Linked DNA regions of Homo sapiens: region 1 is linked to region 2. Evidence: promoter capture Hi-C in human tissues and cell types (Jung and others, 2019). All regions are on one chromosome and are shown on one strand. The core of a region is centred on a gene start or on the middle of the fragment in contact, and the rest is flanking DNA. Distances in the headings are between cores, read along the strand shown. Region 1 holds the start of PABPC1L (poly(A) binding protein cytoplasmic 1 like). Region 2 holds the start of KCNK15 (potassium two pore domain channel subfamily K member 15).

What was found. Contacts are between HindIII fragments. The study calls those that stand out against the background at their distance.
Region 1: a contact is called between the fragment with the promoter of PABPC1L here and the fragment with the promoter of KCNK15 in region 2, in 1 of the 25 tissues and cell types used here (mesendoderm cells).

Annotation. Positions count from the first base shown.
Region 1 is chr20:44,908,785-44,911,484 of GRCh38, forward strand. PABPC1L (poly(A) binding protein cytoplasmic 1 like) reads left to right here and starts at 1,276. Exons shown (of 15, transcript NM_001372179.1): 1 at 1,276-1,552. The coding sequence starts at 1,360. RefSeq lists a silencer at 1,130-1,459. The HindIII fragment of the contact is 11,748 bases long and covers 1-2,700 here.
Region 2 is chr20:44,744,552-44,747,251 of GRCh38, forward strand. KCNK15 (potassium two pore domain channel subfamily K member 15) reads left to right here and starts at 1,314. Exons shown (of 2, transcript NM_022358.4): 1 at 1,314-1,642. The coding sequence starts at 1,360. KCNK15-AS1 (KCNK15 and WISP2 antisense RNA 1) reads right to left here and starts at 1,676. Exons shown (of 5, transcript NR_132377.1): 1 at 1,414-1,676. The HindIII fragment of the contact is 14,439 bases long and covers 1-2,700 here.

The DNA.
Region 1 (2,700 bases), core at 26-2,525, 160 kb after region 2:
TTGGTATGGACAGTTATTTTGCATTGTATTCGAGCCCACCATCCCTTCCCCATTTTTTAACTCTGAGATACAACCAAGCCAGTGAAATAGGTAACCTATGGTTGCATAAGTCTTGGTCATCACCAAGCTGGCGTCTCACCTGTCCTCACACTGTATGGTGGCCTGCAGAGCTGGTTCCTCACAGGATTTGCCCCTTCTGAAAACATCCACATTACCACAAGGAGAGAAAAATATCAGGATAGAGGGGTCTTTTTTAGCCCAAGATTAGAATTAGTGCTTCCTTGCTACTCTGAGGCTGGACAGCCAGATGGGCACCTTCTGTCCCTAGTTTAGGAGCTGTTCCACCTGTTGAAGCCACACTCAACCAAAAGTCAGTGGGGGCCTACCTGCTCTGTTGGATCAGTGAGACCAGGAAAGTCCTATCAGAGGAAAAGTGAAGTATTGGTGCTCAGTGGAGTAGTTGTTTTGTTTTTGTGTTGTTTTTAATGTCCCTATACCACAGATTGACGCTGCAAGCTCAGATTCACAGTCTTGCTCTGTTTAGGTCTTGCTCTGCTATTAGTTCCCAATTGTCCGCATTTAGGCTGAGCCACAAGTAACTCAGTGAACCTCCCTGGTGTAATGGATGTGTAATGGCTTAGCAGAGGGACAGGGAATATCCCAGGAAAAGGGGTCTTGGTAATATGAGCCAGTACCAAGAAAGGCCTTAGTGGTCTCCAGTTCTCATGTCTCAAAGCCATTTCCATCCTTGGTGCGAAACGGTGGGACTGGATCAGGCTCTCTGGAGGAAGACATCTTCAATGGAGCAGGGTAAAATTCTCTACACAAGCTTTGAAACAGTGGCCTGTTCGGAATTCCGTTTGTGTGTGAAACGCAAAAAGCGCGGTTTGGGTCTCCTTTCATTCTTGTCAGGAGGGAATCATTCCCATTTTACAGAGAAGGGAAACGGGTTCAGAAAGATGATCATCTGTTCCGGGGTTAGAACTCAGTCCCCTGCGTCCTTTCCGTCCCAGTCCTCGGCTCTTTCAAAAGAGCTGGGGGTTTTGAGAGCTCCACTCAAGTCCCAGCAGCCCTGCTCAAGGCCAGGTTGAAGGCTTTTTCCGCCTCCCAGGGCGGGGTCAGAGGTGTCCCCACCTGTAGCTTTTAGATCCCCAAGTGCTCGCAGGTGGGGGGTGGGCCCAGGAGGGATCCCGGGGGAGGGGCGTCCGAGCGCGCCCACGATTGGTGCGCAGGGACGCGGGGGCGGTAAAGGGAAGGGGCGGGCCCGCGCCCAGGAAGGAGGGCTTCCGCCCGGGTGAGCGCGGGGCTGCTGGGTGACCCGGCTCCTGCTTGCCCCGCAGCCCCGGCCCCCTGCCCACCATGAACGCCAGCGGTTCTGGCTACCCGCTTGCCTCGCTTTACGTGGGCGATCTGCACCCCGACGTGACCGAGGCCATGCTCTATGAGAAGTTCTCTCCCGCCGGCCCCATCCTGTCCATCCGCGTGTGCCGCGATGTAGCCACCCGGCGCTCGCTGGGCTACGCCTACATCAACTTCCAGCAGCCCGCGGACGGTGAGCCCCGGGGATGGGGCGGGAGGGGAAGGACCGACGGACAAGCAGGCGGACAGACAGAAGCCGGAACTGGGCCGCTTGCGCTTTCATCTTACACTTTGCAGCCGGGGAAACTGAGGCTCAAAGATAACAGGGCGTTGGCAGAGGCCTGGCCCCTGAGACGGGAATTGGTAATTAGTGTGGTTTACTGCTATTCCTCTACAGAGGAGAGAGATTAGGGTCGAGTGAAAACAGATACAGGCTTTGTGGGGGTGGGGGTGGGGGTCAGGCGGACCAGGGATAGAAGCCCAGCAGCCGTGTGACTCTGGGCAAGTTACTCGACCATTCTGAGCTTCAGATGCGTGTCTGGAAAATGGGGGTCCTAGCTGCCTTATAGAGTGCTTGTGAGGATGAGAGATTCAAAGCACCTGGTGAGGAAGATGCCCAAGGCAACACAGCTGGTGAGCAGGGGAGGCAGGAGAACCCAGCCTTGGGCTCAGGCCTTTCCCAGCGCGACGTGAGATCCACACTGGGCGCCTCTACCTGCACGGGCTCTGAAAAACCGCTGCCTCCAGGCCGCAAGGCCGCTTTCTCAGAGCTGATAGCATTGATTAGAGCTTGTCCGATGAGTTTGCCTGCACTTCTGTTGAGAGTGGAGAGGATGAGTGAGCTTGGGCAAGCCTTCACGCTCTGCACCTTTTCATCTGCAAAATGGGGCTAAGGCGTATTCTCCAATAACATAAAGAATGGAGAACTGCTGTCTATGCATAAAGAATGGTAACTGCTTGTTACCTCGTAAACGCTCTTAAGTGGTAACCTAAAATAAATAAATAAATAAATAAATAAATAAATAAATAAATAAATAAGGCCAGGCGCAGTGGCTCACGCCTGTAATCCCAGCATCTTAGGAGGCCGAGGTGGGCAGATCACTTGAGGTCAGGAGTTCGAGACCAGCCTGGCCAACATAGCGAAACCCTTTCTCTACTAAAAATACAAAAAATAGCTGGGCATGATGGCGGACGCCTGTAATCCCAACTGCTGGGGAGGCTGAGGCACGAGAATCGCTTGAATCCGGGAGGCAGAGGTTGCAGTGAGCCGAGACTGCGCCATTGCACTCCAGCCCGGGCAACAGAGCGAGACTCCATCTCAACACAAAACAAAACAACAAA
Region 2 (2,700 bases), core at 64-2,563:
TTCCCACCTTGTGGGCTCCCTCTCTTCTAAAGACTTTAGTTCTCTGCATTCAGCCGTCTGGTGGGGGAAAGAGATGGAGCACGTGTAGGGCAGGGTTTTATGGGCCAGGCCTGGAAGTGGCATATGTCACTTCTGCCCATGTTCCATGAGCTAAAGCTTGGTCACATAGACCCTGCTAAGTGCAAGAAAGGCTGGGCAATGTGGCCAGCTGGGCGCCCAACTCCACCTCCCCGGTGCATCCCGGATCCCCTCATTTCTCTCCATCTTCACACATTTGGACTACACTAGCCTTCGAACTGGCCTCCACTCCTAGCCACCATCCCTTTTCCCCATGACAGCCAGGGGCTCTTTAAAAAATATGAATCAGATCATTGTGGTGGTGTTGCGTGTGTGTTTGTTTGCCTGTGTTTGTAATACAGCCTTTCCATGGCTTTCAATAAACCCACATAAGGGCTTGTAAGACCCTGTGTGAAGTTGCCTCTTTGCCTTCCTTCTGCTCCCCCAAAGTATCTGCCCCCCAGTTCTCTGGGCTCCAGCGACACCGGCTCCTCTGCTATTCTGGCTGCCAAGTCATGCTCAGTTCTGTTTTAAGCACCACCTTAGATGGTGGGGTTCACCTTCCCCAAGAAACTATCCCTTTTCCTTCTTTCTCACTCCTGTCTTAAATTAGTTTCTTGTTTGTTAGCTGGCCCTCCTCACTAGGATATCACTTTTACTTACAACAGGAATGTTGTTTGCACCAGTAGGTGCTTGGTAAATATTTGTCAGAGGATTGACTGACTGAATGAAAGAAGGAAGGAAGGAGAGAAGGAAGGGAAGAAGAGATGAAGGGACGAAGGGAGGAAGGGAGGGACGGAGGGAGGAAGGGAGGGACGGAGGGAGGAAGGGAGGGACGGAGGGAGGAAGGATGGGAGGGAAGAAGGGAGGGAGGGATGGGGAAAGGAGTGAAAGGAAGGAAGGAAGGAAAGGAGGGAGGGAGGGAGGAAGGGAGGGGAGGGGGGAGGGGAGGGAGGGAAAAAGGAAGGAAGGAAGGACGGAAGGAAGGACGGAAGACTGGCACGAGGTCACAACATGAGTTAGTGGCGGGAACAGGACTTCTGCAGGCCCGGGGTTTGGGCCTTTGCTTCAGATCTCACTATTCACAGACACATGAACCCCGGGCAGGCGAGTGGGAGGCGGACAGGGGAGCGGTTCTTCCGGCCCCCACCCGTGGCGATCCCAGCCTCCAGGTTCCCGGCAGTCGCCCCGCCTCGCCCGTCACAACCCTGCCGCGTGGGGCCGGGGTTGGAGGGGGCGGAGCGCGCGGTCCGGGCACACGGAGCAGGTTGGGACCGCGGCGGGTACCGGGGCCGGGGCGCCATGCGGAGGCCGAGCGTGCGCGCGGCCGGGCTGGTCCTGTGCACCCTGTGTTACCTGCTGGTGGGCGCTGCTGTCTTCGACGCGCTCGAGTCCGAGGCGGAAAGCGGCCGCCAGCGACTGCTGGTCCAGAAGCGGGGCGCTCTCCGGAGGAAGTTCGGCTTCTCGGCCGAGGACTACCGCGAGCTGGAGCGCCTGGCGCTCCAGGCTGAGCCCCACCGCGCCGGCCGCCAGTGGAAGTTCCCCGGCTCCTTCTACTTCGCCATCACCGTCATCACTACCATCGGTGAGCCGCCCGGAGCCTCCCTCCGCGCCCGCTCCAGCCCCAGCCGTCCCGGGGCGCCTCTGGGTTTCGGTCCCACCTCTGCCCCCGCCCAGCTGAGCTACTTTGGACGGGTCATTTCGGCTCACCGAGCCTCCCTCATCTCCTTCGCCTCCCTCGTCTCCCTGGTCTCCTTTGCCCCCCTCTGCTGAATGGAGCTGTCAGCCCACGCAGGCAGGGACGGGAGGAATCAGTAAATCGAGTTTGCCAAAAGGCTGACCCAGGAGTGCTCAGAAAACGTCCAAGGGGCTTGGAGATAGGTGAAGCGGGGCTGGGAGACCAAGTGGCTGGATTTGCTTTTCCTTGCCTGGTTGCCTCACACTTGCTGTGTGACCTTAGACGAGTTGCTCAACCTCTCTGAGCCAGAGTTTTCTCTTCTGTAAAATAGTGTCGCTAATCGGCCTTATCTCAGGGCTGTGGTGAGAGTTATTATTCAGGAGACAGACTATGCACAGACAAGGCCTGTGCTAAAACATGACACATACAGAGCACTACAAAGAAAAGATCATTTTTTTATTATTGCAATTGTTATTGTTACCCCATGAGAATGGGGACCCAGTCTGTCTTAGGGACTGCTGTATGACCCGTGCCTAGCATGCAGTAGATGATCAATAAATACTTGTTAAAGGAATGACTGATAACCACAGGCTCTGGACTCTGCCCTCAGGGATGCAGAGCAGTTCCTTTGGAGCATCTGGACCACCAGCTGTTGCCATGACTACCATCTGGCTGGTACCTGCTGAGCCTAAACCTGGGGGAACAGGAAGGAGAGAAGTGGGCTCTGCAGGGCTCCAGGCTTGGTGCCAGCCACTCCCCAGGCTCCAGCTGTGAACGTCCCGGCACCCCCCCTGGGGCTTGGATCACCAGTCCGAAAGCCAGTGCCTTGGAGAAAGTTTCCCCATAATGCTCTTGCAAGTGAATATGAGCTGTGGTTTTTGCAGTGGAGTTAAAAGTATGAGTTCTGGAATCACAGAGACTGGAGTTCTGGTCTCATCTCTATTGCCACCTGCCTTCTCTGGCAA